Regions from separate parts of the Homo sapiens genome. Here region 2 is linked to region 1. The links are contacts of gene promoters, found by promoter capture Hi-C in blood cells and fetal thymus (Javierre and others, 2016). All regions are on one chromosome and are shown on one strand. The core of a region is centred on a gene start or on the middle of the fragment in contact, and the rest is flanking DNA. Distances in the headings are between cores, read along the strand shown. Region 1 holds the start of ACTN4 (actinin alpha 4). Region 2 overlaps SARS2 (seryl-tRNA synthetase 2, mitochondrial).

Region 1 (6,652 bases), core at 1,134-3,633:
TGGAGGTGCACGAATTGAAGAGGGATGACTGTGGGATGGGATGACCAAGCTTGGGGGGAAGATCAGGAACTCTATTTTGGATATTTATTATTATTATTATTTGAGATGGAGTTTCGCTCTTGTTGCCCAAGCTGGAGTACAATGGTGCAATCTTGGCTCACCACAACCTCCGTCTCCCAGGTTCAAGCTATTCTCCTACCTCAGCCTCCTGAGTAGCTGGGATTACAGGCATGTGCCACTATGCCTGGCTAATTTTGTATTTTTAGTAGAGACGGAGTCGTTGGCCCGGCTGGTCTTGAACTCCTGACCTGGGGTGATCCGCCCACTTCGGCCCCCCAAAGTGCTGGGATTACAGGCGTGAGCCACCACACCTGGCCGGATATTTATTTATTTATTTTTATTTTTATTTTAGACGGAGTCTTGCTCTGTCGCCCAGGCTGGAGTACAGTGGCGCGATCTCGGCTTACTGCAGCCTCTGCCTCCCGAGTTCCAGTGATTCCCCTACCTCAGCCCCCTGGGTAGCTGGGATTACAGGTGCATGCCACCAAGCCCGGCTAATTTTTGTATTTTTAGTAGAGACGGGGTTTCACCATGTTGGCCAGGCTGGCCTCTAACTCCTGACCTCGTGATCTGCCTGCCTCGGCCTCCCAAAGTGCTGGGATTACAGGCATGAGCCACTGCGCCCGGCCATTTATTTTTAATGTAAACATTTTTTTGTAGAGATGAGATCTTGTTATGTTACCCAGTCTGGCCTCAAACTCTTGGGCTCAAGCACTCTTCCAGCCTTGACTCCCCAGAGTGCTGGGATTGCAAGAGTAAGCCACCAGTGCCTGGCTGAATATTTAAATTTAAGATGCTTCCTGATGCAGTGGCTCGCACCTTTGTTTAAATGTCTGCCTTCTCCATGAAGCCTACCTGAGTAGTTTATTTGCATTCCAGCCCATGCTTGATTTTTCTCCAAATACTCAACACCTTGGAATATACAATACTACCTATTTTTTACTTTTATGTATATTTTTGAGACAGGATTTCGCTTCTGGAGTGCATTGGTGTGATCACAGCTCACTGCAGACTGGAACTCCTGGGCTCAAGTGATGTCCCTTCCTCAGCCTCCTGAGTAGCTGGGACTACAGGTGCACACAGCCATGCCCAGTGAATTTTTACATTTCTTGTAGAGACAGGTTCTTGTTATGTTGCCTAGGCTGGCCTTGAACTCTTGGGCTCAAGCCATCCTCCCGCCTCAGCTTCCCAAAGTGCTGGGATTACAGGTGTGAGCCCCTGTGCCTGTCTACATATTTTTTAAAATTTTGAGTGTTGAGGCCAGGCGCAGTGGCTCATGCCTGTAAGCCCAGCACTTTGGGAGGCCGAGGTGGGCGGATCACCTGAGGTCGGGAGTTTGAGACCAGCCTGACCAACATGGAGAAACCCCGTCTCTACTAAAAATACAAAATTAGCCAGGAGTGGTGGCACATGCCTGTGATCCCAGCTACTCGGGAGGCTGAGGCAGGAGAATAGCTTGAACCTGGGAGGCGGAGGTTGCAGTGAGCCCAGATCACGCCATTGCACTCCAGCCTGGGCAACAAGAGCGAAACTCCGTCTCAAAAAAAAAAATTTGTGTGTTGGTTGGGCGCGGTGGCTCACGCCTGTAATTCCAGCACTTTGGGAGGCTGAGGCGGGAGGATCGCTTGAGCTCAAGAGTTCAAGACCAGCCTGGCCAACATGGTGAAACCCCGTCTCTACTAAAAAAATACAAAAATTAGCCGGGTGTGGTGGAGCATGCCTGTGTTCCCAGCTACTCGGGAGGCTGAGGCAGGAGAATTGCTTGAATCCGGGAGGCGGAGGTTGCAGTGAGCCGAGATCGCGCCACTGCACTCCAGCCTGGGAGACAGAGCGAGACTCCGTCTCAAAAAATAATAAAAATAAAAGTAGATTTGTGTGTATGTGGCTTCCTTTACTAGAAGGTAGTTTCATGAAAGTTGGGATTTTTTTCTGTTTTTAGTGCCTGCGTAAAACATAGTCTGGCACAGAATAGGTGTTCAATAAATATTTGTTGAATTTGTGTCGCTGAATGGGAACCCGGTGCAGTGCATTCCAAGCCTGAGCTGGTTCAGGTCCGATGGCGGGGCCTGCCCTTATGAATCATTCATGATCTGGCCCCGCCCATACGCGAACGACGCGCGCGTTCACGCCGGAGAGGGGGCGCGGCTCGCCCCCGGGCTGAGTCGGGCGGCCAGGAAGCGGGACTCTGCGCAGGCGCCAAGCTCCGGAGCGCGGCCTTGGTGCCTTTTCTGGTTTGGCAGGCGCGCGCGCGCGGGAGGGCGGCAACCTCGGCGCTGTGCGCAGGCGCGGCGGGCAGTGCGCAGGCGCGGGCGGAGGGCGGGCTGAAGCAGCTGAAGCGGCGGTAGCGGCGGCGGCTCGGGCAGAGGGGCGGGAGCTGAGGCGGGAGCGGACAGGCTGGTGGGCGAGCGAGAGGCGGCGGAATGGTGGACTACCACGCGGCGAACCAGTCGTACCAGTACGGCCCCAGCAGCGCGGGCAATGGCGCTGGCGGCGGGGGCAGCATGGGCGACTACATGGCCCAGGAGGACGACTGGGACCGGGACCTGCTGCTGGACCCGGCCTGGGAGAAGCAGCAGCGCAAGGTGCGCGGCCCGCGGGCCGGACGGGCTGGAGGGGCTTTTCTGAGGGGGCCCGGGGAGGGGTGGGAGGTCCTGAAAGGTAACTGGAGCGTCTGTGATGGGAACGGGGGGGTCCCGAGAAGGAATTGGCGGGTCCGGGAAGGGAATTGGAGTCCTGAGGAGGAATCGCCGAGCTAGAGGAAGGAATTGGGAATCTGAAAAGAGAATTGGCGGCTGGGTGGGGAATATGGGAGTCAAATAAAAGGAATCGGGAAGGCTGATGAAGGATTTGGAGGGTCTGGGCGTGCCATTAGGGGAAACCGAGGAGATGACTGGGCAGGCTGAAATGGAACTGGGATCCGAGGCGGGCTTGAAGGGTCGGAGCATGGGTTGGGGGTGCTGGGAGGAGAATCAGGGGAGGCTGAGAAGGGAATTTCTGGGTCTGGGAAGTGTGAGGAGGAGCTTGAGTGTGGAGGGGTTGGTTATTTGGAGAGCAGAAAGATCTGAAGGAGATTGGAATTGGGGGAGCCTCAGGTTGGGGGAGTTATAAAGGGGATGAAGAATCAAGTGTGAGGATGGAGTGGAGATTGTGGGGTCTGAAGACGGGTGGGAAGACTAGGGAGGCTGGGAAGATGAAAACAGGGGCTAAGGGTAGAATTGAGCATGAAAAGACATGGGCTTAGGGTGTGAGGAGGGTAGAGGTGCCAGGACTGGGGGTCTGAGGAGGGTGGGGTGCGGAAGGAAGAAGTTAAGGGGCCCGTGAATCAGACGTTTTTGAAGGGGGTGAGATTTATTTGTGGTGCCCTGTTCCAAAGGGGAGAAGATTAAGAGATAGGAGGAATAATAAGAGGAATTGATGAGGGATGGAGAAGCCGAAGTAGAGGGGATACGGAGAGTGGGGATAATTTGGGGAGGGATTTCTAAAGAATTGATGGGAAGCTGAAAAGCTAAAGCGTTGGAGAGAATGAGGAAGTGTAGAGGGAGAAGGTGAGATCGGTGGGAGGGAGGGTGAGCTGGAATGGTGGATAATGGGAGAGAGGTTCGTTTAGGAAAATGAAAGTCTCATTAGAAAGGGAATGCGTAATGGATAGACTGAGAAAGGAATTTGAGGAGGGGGTGCTGGCTCCTGGAGGTGCAGTCCCGGGACTGGAGAGCGTGTGTGTGTCGTGCAGGCAGAATGAGTTTGGGGAGGAAGCGTTGAGAGTGTCCAGGAAGAATTGTGTCTTTTTTGGAGAGACCGGAGGTAGGTGAAGGGATCCTGAAGCAGAGACTGTGTTCAGGTGGCACTGTTTTTTTGGGGGGCGGGGGGGGCAACTTGGTAGGGCCCCACAGCAGTGAAAAGGTGATCAGAAGTGGAGTGGGATCCCCGAGCGAGGTGTCAGTGTCTGTGGGGGGGGGATAAATCCAGTGTGGTTGAGGGGGGAGCTCTGAGTGTGTGCAGGAAGAGCTAAAGAAAGGAGCGTGGTGAGTGGGTGTGTGTGGGGGGAAGGGGTTGTTCAGAAGTTTTGTGCGTGAAATGGGTGGGAGGTACTTGAAGTTGGAAGCATTTCGTGGGATCTGGAGATCTGGATTTTCTTTCCAGATTTGTTACTGATTCGCTCTGTGGCCTTGGACAAGACCCTTGAACTCTCCGGGCAGTTTTGTTATCTGCAAAATGCAAAGGGATCCGAGGGTTCCCTGCGGTGATTCTGTTAATAAAGAGGGATGTGTGTAGAGTTGGGACTTTGGACAGGGCTCTGAAGGTTTGGGAGAGTGAGTTTGGTGGAGATTTTTCAGGAACAGGCTACAGGGCTTTGAGTGGTGACCTGGCAGAGTGGGGAGTGACTGGAAGCCTCTCGAGGGCGCGAGTTGGTGGCCAGGAGCTTGGCACAGGCAGCCTAGCCCAGGCTGGAGGGGAAAGGGTGGGAAGGGTGGAAGGAGCAGCTGTTCCAAGGCAGCCTGAGGTGGGGCCGGGCATAACCTTGGGTCCATTACCAGCGTTGCTTGAATTTCCTCATCCGTAGTAACTGAGGGGCATGGCAGTGGCTTGGTGGGAGGGGTGTCCTTATCCGTGGCCCCACCTACTGCAGGATGGACAGGTTGCGATAGTTGGCATAAATTCACTTTTTGAGGGGAAGGTGAGATCTGTTCTGGAGTCTCAACAATAATTTATTGCCTGAGGCAGTGCCAGGTTGGAAAAGGTTGCCAAGAGACCTGGAAAGTTGGGAGGGAGCAGGGGCCACAGTGGTGGTTTTGAGAATGTCTAGGCTTTGTCTTCTGCAGCTGAAGGTGCTGGAGAAAATAAACCCCTCCCCCTTTTTTCTCAGGTGATAAGGGTGGGGGGACCTTCCTTTTCTCTCCCTTCCTGTCTTCTGCCACTCCTCAAGTGACTCCTTTTGCGAGCCGGGTTTCACTCCCTCCCGAGAGTTAGGGTGTGGGCTTTGTTCGTGGTTATAGTGTCCCTTGCCTACAGGGTGAGGCTGGGGCACCATTCAGGCCCTGGGTGGAAACCAGGACTCCCCAGAACCTCCAGGCCTTGCTGCCATGTGTCATTCTCTTACCTCCCAGCTCCCTTCCTCTGGGGCCGGGCAGGTTTGAGGGAAAAGGGTGGCTCACAGAGTCCGCTAATACCATCTGCTTTCGTGTCTCAGCCAGAGCCAGATTCTAGTACCTCCTGCTTTACACCTCCTCCAGCAAATATTTACCCTTAGCTGCTCTGTGGGGGAAACTACTGCTTCACCTCTGTGCCCTTTCCTGTTATGGGGTAGGGATTCTTTTTGAAATGGGGGAAGGAGTAATGGAAAGGAATACACCAATCTGTGTGGCTCTCTACCTTCCTACTAAGAAACATCCCTGCACTCCCAGGCTGGCTGGGTTGTTTGTTTGTTTGTTTGTTTGTTTTTGGAGACGGAGTTTTGCTCTTGTTGCCCGGGCGTGATCTTGGCTCACCGCAACCTCCGTCTCCCGGGTTCAAGCGATTCTCCTGCCTCAGCCTCCCGAGTAGCTGGGAATACGGGCATGCGCCACCACGCCTGGCTTTTTGTATTTTTAGTAGAGACGGGGTTTCTCCATGTTGGTCGGGCTGGTCTCAAACTCCCGACCCCAGGAGATCCGCCCGCCTCGGTCTCCCAAAGTGCTGGGATTACAGGAGTGAGCCACTGCACCCAGACTGGCTGGGTTTTTTCTACATTGCAGTGTTGCTTTAGTGAATGACAGATTGCCCTTCTTGCCTCTCCAAGGCTGAGCCACTGGGCACGGGAAGAATGACAGTCCTGGGGGTTCTGTACATGCATACTCCAAAAAAATATGCATCCAGAACAGCTGTAGGCCCTCAAAGTGGGTAGAATTGAATTCTTCTAGGAATTAAGCAAGAGTTGGCCCAAATCAGAGGGGACGTGTGTCTCACTTCTGCTTGGAAGCCCTTTGCTCTGACTTCTAGGGACCCCTGTAACCCGTAAGTAGGTTATGCAACGGTTTTTACATGAGAGGGCCATGAGTGTTCTCCTGGCGGGATGGAGAAGCATTGTTCTGGTCTTTGAGCAAATTCTTGAGCAATTACAGTTCTGGGCCACAGTTCCCTCTCCCAATTTCTAAAAGTGGCCTGGGTAACCTCATCACCCTCTGTTGTCCTGGAAGGGTGAGATCTCTTGAAGGTTATGCCAAATCTCATTACAGCAAGAAGAAATGACTCACTTGCTAAGTTTTCGTGTTCATTGAAACATCACTATTTCAGGGGCCTCAATGTTTCAACCCTGACCGTTGGCTTTTTTTTTGGAGACGGAGTTTTGCTCTTGTTGCCCATGTGGCTGTATTAGGTATGAGTTAACTATTTGAAAGTTTTTGTTTGTTTTTTGTATTTGTTTTTTTTGTTTTGTTTTGTTTTGTTTTTTTTGAGACAGAGCCTCACTCTGTCACCAGGCTGGAGTGCAGTGGTGTGATCTTGGCTCACCACAACCTCTTCCAGGTTCAAGGAATTCTCCTGCCTCAGCCTCCTGAGTAGCTGGGACTACAGGCGTGTGCTACCGTGCCTGGCTAATTTTTGTGTTTTTAGTAGA
Region 2 (6,652 bases), core at 347-2,846, 270 kb after region 1:
TCCCCACCACCCACACAGGTCCTCACCTGCAAGCCCCACCTCCGCTGTTCCAGCCAGGTTGAGATCTTTGAAGCGGGCAGGGTCGATGTTGTAAATTTGGGATGGGTTGGCATTTGGTGTCATCCCACAGCCTTCCTGGGGGAGGAGGCCAGGCCACAGGGATCAGGGGACAGGTAACCCTGGCCTCTCGTTTTACAGTCCCAACCCCAGCTCCTCCCCTGAAAACATCTGGAGCTGCCCTGGCCTCCCTGGTATGGCCTGGCCCCCTCAACCCAGCCCCAGGGCGGTCTCCTCAGGTTTCCCTGCCTCGGGCACCCACGGCAGGGCCTGACACCCAGGTGGGCGAGGGAAGCGGAGAGGCCTCACTCACAAACACTGCTCCGCGGAGAAGGTCTGGCACCGTCATGGGGGTGAAGCCCTGTTCAGGGGAGAGGATGAGTGAGCAGAGCTGGGACCCCTACCAGACCCCAAGCTCAGCCCTGAAGAAGGGGTGCTGCAGAGCCCCTTCCTCCTCAGACGAAACTGAGGCAGGGGCTGGCGCAGTGGCTCACCCATGTAATCCCAGCACTTTGGGAGGCTGAGGTGGGCGGATCACTTGAGGCCAGGAGTTTGAGACCAGCCTGGCCAACATGGCAAAACCCCCTCTCCACTAAAAAGGCAAAAATTAGCCGGCATGGAGATCGTGCTACTGCACTCCAGTCTGGGTGACAGAGCGAACTCTGTCAAAAAGAAAAAAAAAAAAATTAGCCAGCATGGTGGCATGTGCCTGTAATCCCAGCTACTCAGGAGGCTGAGGCAGGAGAATTACTTAAACCCGGGAGGTGGAGGTTGCAGTGAGCCAAGATTGCACCACTGTACTCCAGCCTGGGTGACAGAGCGAGACTCCGTCTCAAAAAACAAAAAAGTACAGATTTGGCCACACCCTCCCCTGCTTAAAAGCCTCCCATGGCTCCCTAGTACCCTCTGAAAATGTCTGAGTTCCTCACCGTGACCAATGCTCCATGCAACCAGTCCCTGCCATGTTTCAATGGATGCTATGATTCCCAAATGCTCCCTTTATACCGCAAGCAGGCAGTGAGGTGCAATGATTACAAGCACAGGCTCTAGGCCCAGCTCCAGACTGGCTGTGAGACCTTGGGCTATAGGTACCTCCCCTCTCTGGGCCTCAAGCCCTCTCTGTAAAGTGGGGATGATGACAGCACCCACTTCATAAAGTTGTCGTAAGGACTAAATGTGTCAATGATACACATGAAGCTCTGAGAGCAGTGACTAGGGCAGAGCAGAGATCACTCCCATCCCCGTTGGGCCCTCTGAGCTCAGCTTCGATGCCACCCCCTCCAGGCAGCCCTCCTATCTTGGCCCATACCCGGCGGAGAAGCTTGTTGAATGTGAAGTTGACCAGGCCGTGCTGCAGGAGGGCTCCAGCCCCGCGCAGGTAATAGGACCGGTGGCCAGACACGTGGGACAGGCGCCTGGGAGACAGACAGACAGGCGGGTGCACATGGGCCAGGCTGGCAGGGAATGTGGGGATGAAAACACCCGGGGGAAGAGGCCCGGCTGCTGGGTGGGGCTGGGGCATCAAAGATTCATGGCATTTCCACATCTCACGCTGAGGCCAATGAGGCAGGAGCCAGCTGTCGGGGTGCAGGCAGCTGGGAGAGGGGCGTGGGGAGCCAGGGGAGGGGCTCACTTCTGACGGATGATGTCGAGTTTCTCGCCAATTTCCAGGTGGCCCCGAGGTTGGAAGGAGAAAACTGGATGTGGGTGAAAAGCACCGGTGTAAGGCAGCGGGGAGAGAGGGATGGGGCCCAGATAGAAGCTTCCAGAGACAGCAGAGAGGAGGGACGGTGAGAGAAAATAAAGGAGGGGCAGGAGGAGAGAAGGGAGAAGAAGACACGGAAAGGGAGGGAAAGGGAAGAAAAGACAGACAGGAAGGGAGGGAGATAAAAACAGAGACAGGGAGAGGAAATGAGAGGAGGCAGAGAGGGAAATAAGAGGGCGCGGGGTGGGGAAGGCAGAGTTAGAAACAGAGGAGAGAGGCCAGAGGAGAAGGAAACACCACGAGGAAGGGAGGAGGAGAATCAGAGAGGAGGCACAGAGTTGGGGAGAAAAAGCCCCGGAGACAGGGACCAAAGCAGGGGGGTCAGAGAGAGAGACAGAGACACACACACACTCACACACATACATACACACACAGAGATACACACAGAGGTACGAAGACACACACACATATACAGACACACAGAGACAGACACATACACAGACACGCAGAGACAGACACACAGATACACGGATACAGACACACAAAGACAGACACGCACACACAGATACACACAAAGACACAGATACACAGACACAGATACAGACATACACACAGAGATACACGGAGATATGCAGATACACACACAGACACACAGAGACAGACACATACACACAGACACAGAGAAAGACACACAGATACATACACACAGATACATAGACACACACAGACACACACACACACAAACACAGATATACACACACAGAGATAGACACACACATAGACACACACACACAGACACAGACACAGATACAGACACACACAAACACAGACACACACACACAGATACAGACACACACAGATACACAGATACAGACACACACAGATACACAGATACAGACACACACATACAGATACAGACACACAGATACAGACACACATGACACACAGTCACACAACACATACATACACGACACACACTCACACACATACGATACAATCACACAACACAGGGTGAGACTGCCCAATGGTGAAGGGGGAGAGAATGAAAACCCAAGGACCGCCTCTCAGAGACAGCTCGAGCTCGGCCAAGGCAGGAAGCTGGAGCCACCTCCTGTACCGCCAGGAGTTCTCCAGGCTCCAGACATGTTCCCAGACCCCAGGGGCCCCCACCCCGAGACCCCAGAACCCCCACACCGCAGGGCTTGTCAGCTCCCAGGCCTGGGGTGTGGCCCACCTGGCTTGTCTCCGACCATGTGGAGCACTCGAGCCTGGCTCTCATCCCCGACGGGCTGCAGGGAGACAGCAGGAGTCACGGAAAGGTGGCACTAGGTGGGCCCCTGGCCTCCCTGCCACCCAGCACGGTGCTCACCACGTCTGGGTGGGTCTGGTTGGGCAGCTTCAGCGCCTGCAGGTAGAACTGCTCCTCAAGCTGGGCCTCCCTGGGGTACAGGTGAACAAGCTCCTTCCGGATCTCCCGGCCACGTGCCCGCAGACCCTGGTACTTGGGGTCCTGGGGGCAGCACAGGTGGGCTCAGCCCGGGAGAGGGTCAGGACTCCCTCATCCAGTGTGACCTTGATCCTGACCGGCAGAGCCCCTGTGGTGGACATTCATGCCTCTTCTCCAGGCCCAGGATCCTGAACGTCTTCGCAGAACTTCCCTTACCACCACATGGCAGGTTTGTGGGGAAAAGAATCAGGCCTGGCCAACTAGAACGTTCTATTGCCTTGGCCACAATGACTGGCTCAGAGACAGGCACCTGATGTCAGCTGAACTCATGAGAATCAGCCCCAGGACTTTAACTGGAACTATCAGGAAAGCGTGCTTGACTTTGCCTCCTACTTACACAAGGAGAGAAAGCTGGCCTGGGAATGGGAGGAACGTAGGACCAAATATGGAGCCAGCACCTGGATCCAGCCGCACCTGAAGCCAGTTTTAGTTTCATGCATCAATAGAGCCTATTTTTTTTTTCCCCTTAAACCTGTTTGAGTTGTTTTCTGTTACAATAGTAGAATCGTGACTGGCAGGGTATCCTCCCTGCCCACCCCCAACCCTGGATAGGACATCAACTCTTCACAGTACCTGCTGCACTTCACCACTGTCCTGGTTTGCCTGGTAGAAAAGAGACAGGGTGGGTGATTAGGTTGACAAAGTCGAGGGTGGGGAAGAGAAAAAATGGTGAAAGGTCAAACAAGGCCAGAGGATCTTAGTCTCCTGCTCTGTCAGTGCCTAGCTGGGTCCCTCTGCAACTCTGTGTTTCTGTTTCTCTATTGCTAACGCTACAAGGAGGCAAGATAATTAACAGTAATCACAGCCGCAGATCCGTATAGGAAGTGATGCCTCCATGCCAGGCTCTATGTACAGGGCTCTCCCATGCCATGATTTCTTCAAAATCCACTTTAGGAGGTAGGCATTCGTGTAAACCCTGTGATATGGTTTGGCTGTGTCTCCACCCAAATAATATCTCAAATTGTAATTCCACCTGTTGAGGAAGGGACCTGGTGGGAGGTGATCGGGTCCTGGGGGCGGTTTCCCCCATGCTGTTATCCTGATAGTGAGTTCTCACGAGATCTGATGGTTTAAAAGCATTTGGCAGTTACCCCCTGTGGCTGTCTCCAGCCACCATGTGGAAGGGAAAGTGCCTTGCTTCCCCTTCCGCCATGATTTTAAGTTTCCTGAGGCCTCCCAGCCATATGGAACTGTGAGTCAATTAAACCTCTTTTCTTTATAAATTACCCAGTCTCAGGTATTCTTTTTTTTTTTTTTGAGACGGAGTCTTGCTCTGTCGCCCAGGCTGGAGTGCAATGGCGCGATCTTGGCTCACTGCAAGCTCCACCTCCTGGGTTCACGCCATTCTCCTGCCTCAGCCTCCTGAGTAGCTGGGACTACAGGTGCCCGCCACCACGATCGGCTAATTTTTTTTGTATTTTTCGTAGAGACAAGGTTTCACCATGTTAGCCAGGATGGTCTCGATCTCCTGACTTTGTGATCCACCTGCCTTGGTCTCCCAAAGTGCTGGGATTACAGGCGTGAGCCACCGCGCCCAGCCTGATCTCAGGTTTTCTTTTTTTTTTTTTTTTTTTTGAGACGGAGTCTCGCTCTGTCGCCCAGGCTGGAGTGCAGTGGGGGGATCTCGGCTCACTGCAAGCTCCGCCTCCCGGGTTCACGCCATTCTCCTGCCTCAGCCTCCCTAGTAGCTGGGACTACAGGCGCCCGCCACTACGCCCGGCTAATTTTTTTGTATTTTTAGTAGAGACGGGGTTTCACCGTTTTAGCCGGGATGGTCTCGATCTCCTGACCTCGTGATCCGCCCACCTCGGCCTCCCAAAGTGCTGGGATTACAGGCGTGAGCCACCGCGCCCGGCCTCAGGTTTTCTTTATAGCAGTGTGAAAATGGGGCCAGGCGTGGTGGTTCACAAATGTAATCTCAGCACTTTGGGAGGCTGAGGTGGGCAGATCACCTGAGGCCAGCAGTTGGAGAGCAGCCTGGCCAACATGGAGAAACCTCATCTCTAAAACCTTGTACTAAAAATACAAAAATCAGGCCGGGCTTGGTGGCTTACGCCTGTAATCCCAGCACTTTGGAAGGCTGAGGCGGGCGGATCACGAGGTCAGGAGATCGAGACCATCCTGGCTAACATGGTCTCTACTAAAAATACAGAAAAAAAATTAGCTGGGCGCGGTGGCGGGCGCCTGTAGTCCCAGCTACTCGGGAGGCTGAGGCAGGAGAATGGCGTGAACCCGGGAGGCAAAGCTTACAGTGAGCCGAGATAGTGCCACTGCAGTCTGGCCTAGGTGGAAGAGCGAGACTCAGTCTCAAAAAAAAATTAGCTGGGTGCAGTGGCACGTGCCTGTAATCCCAGCGACTCAGGAGGCTGAGGCACGAGAATCCCTTGAACCTGGGAGGTGGAGGTTGCAGTGAGCCGAGATCGTGCCACTGTACTCTGGTCTGGGTGACACAGTGAGACTCTGTCTCAAAAAAAAAAAAGAAGAAAATGGACTAATATACCCTGTCTGTAGATTCGAAAATGGAAGCTCAGAGAGGTAAAGTCTATCAGTGTGCATTTGAGGGCCTGCAACCAAGGCCCCTTGACATTCTGAACCTTCCATGATCCTAAGCAGCTGAGGGAATCGAACAGCCTGGGTCTGAATGTTGGGCACCTACATGCTGTGAGCCCTTGGGAAAATCTCTGCCCCCTCTGAGCCTCAGTATCCCCATCTGTGAAGTGGGATGATAACAGGACCTCCCTGGGCAGGGCTGTTGTGCAGCTTCCCTGAGATGAGTTAGCACTCAAAGAACATTAAATGATCCATTGTGTTGCTTTCATTGGTTGTCCATGATGTAGACAGCCCGAGGCTGGCCACTCAGTAGGTGCTGGGAGATGTGATTCTTGGTGGCAGAGGCCTCCAAACAGAGTGGTAAAAACCAACTGCCTAGGTGCGAACCTTGCCTCTCCCACTTCCTGGCTGTGAGACTTACGTACTTTTTCTGGTTGTTTTTTCTCGGAGACAGGGTCTCACTCTGTCGCCCAGGCTGCAGTGTGATGGTGCGATCATAGCTAACTGCAGCCTCAAACTCTTGGACTCAAGCGATCTTCCTGCCTCAGCCCCAGAGTAGCTGGGACTACAAGTGCGTACCCCCATACCCGGCCATTTAGGCCCGTTTTAATCTCTTAGGGCCTCACTTTTTCCCAGCTGTAAAATTGGGTTTGTATTGTTCCTGTGTGACAAATGGCTGTGAGGATTAAGAGTATGGAAAACACCTGGTATGGTGTGTAGCGACTTCTACATAAAGGTCTGCTGTTGTTTTTATGATTGTTTTTAAGCCGTCTGTGGCAGACACTGTTGGTTGTATAACCCAAGATCCCTCCTTCCAGGCCAGGCGCAGTGGC

Evidence for each region. The method cuts DNA at HindIII sites, captures the fragments that hold promoters and counts their contacts. A CHiCAGO score of 5 or more calls a contact.
Region 2: a fragment that was not itself captured here is called in contact with the fragment with the promoter of ACTN4 in region 1 in 3 of 17 cell types (total CD8 T cells, M2 macrophages and naive CD4 T cells); the score reaches 5.3 in total CD8 T cells.

Annotation. Positions count from the first base shown.
Region 1 is chr19:38,645,266-38,651,917 of GRCh38, forward strand. It overlaps ACTN4 (actinin alpha 4), which reads left to right and starts at 2,384. Exons shown (of 21, transcript NM_004924.6): 1 at 2,384-2,642. The coding sequence starts at 2,481. RefSeq lists silencers at 2,224-2,413, 2,644-2,723, 3,907-4,105, 4,064-4,358 and enhancers at 4,064-4,358, 4,987-5,066. The HindIII fragment of the contact is 8,558 bases long and covers 48-6,652 here.
Region 2 is chr19:38,918,396-38,925,047 of GRCh38, forward strand. SARS2 (seryl-tRNA synthetase 2, mitochondrial) reads right to left here. Exons shown (of 16, transcript NM_017827.4): 3 at 3,843-3,872; 4 at 3,132-3,272; 5 at 2,997-3,051; 6 at 1,691-1,754; 7 at 1,367-1,472; 8 at 371-418; 9 at 27-135. Among named protein-coding and RNA genes, the nearest start is that of SARS2, 9.0 kb to the right of the region's middle. RefSeq lists an enhancer at 1-614. The HindIII fragment of the contact is 441 bases long and covers 1,377-1,817 here.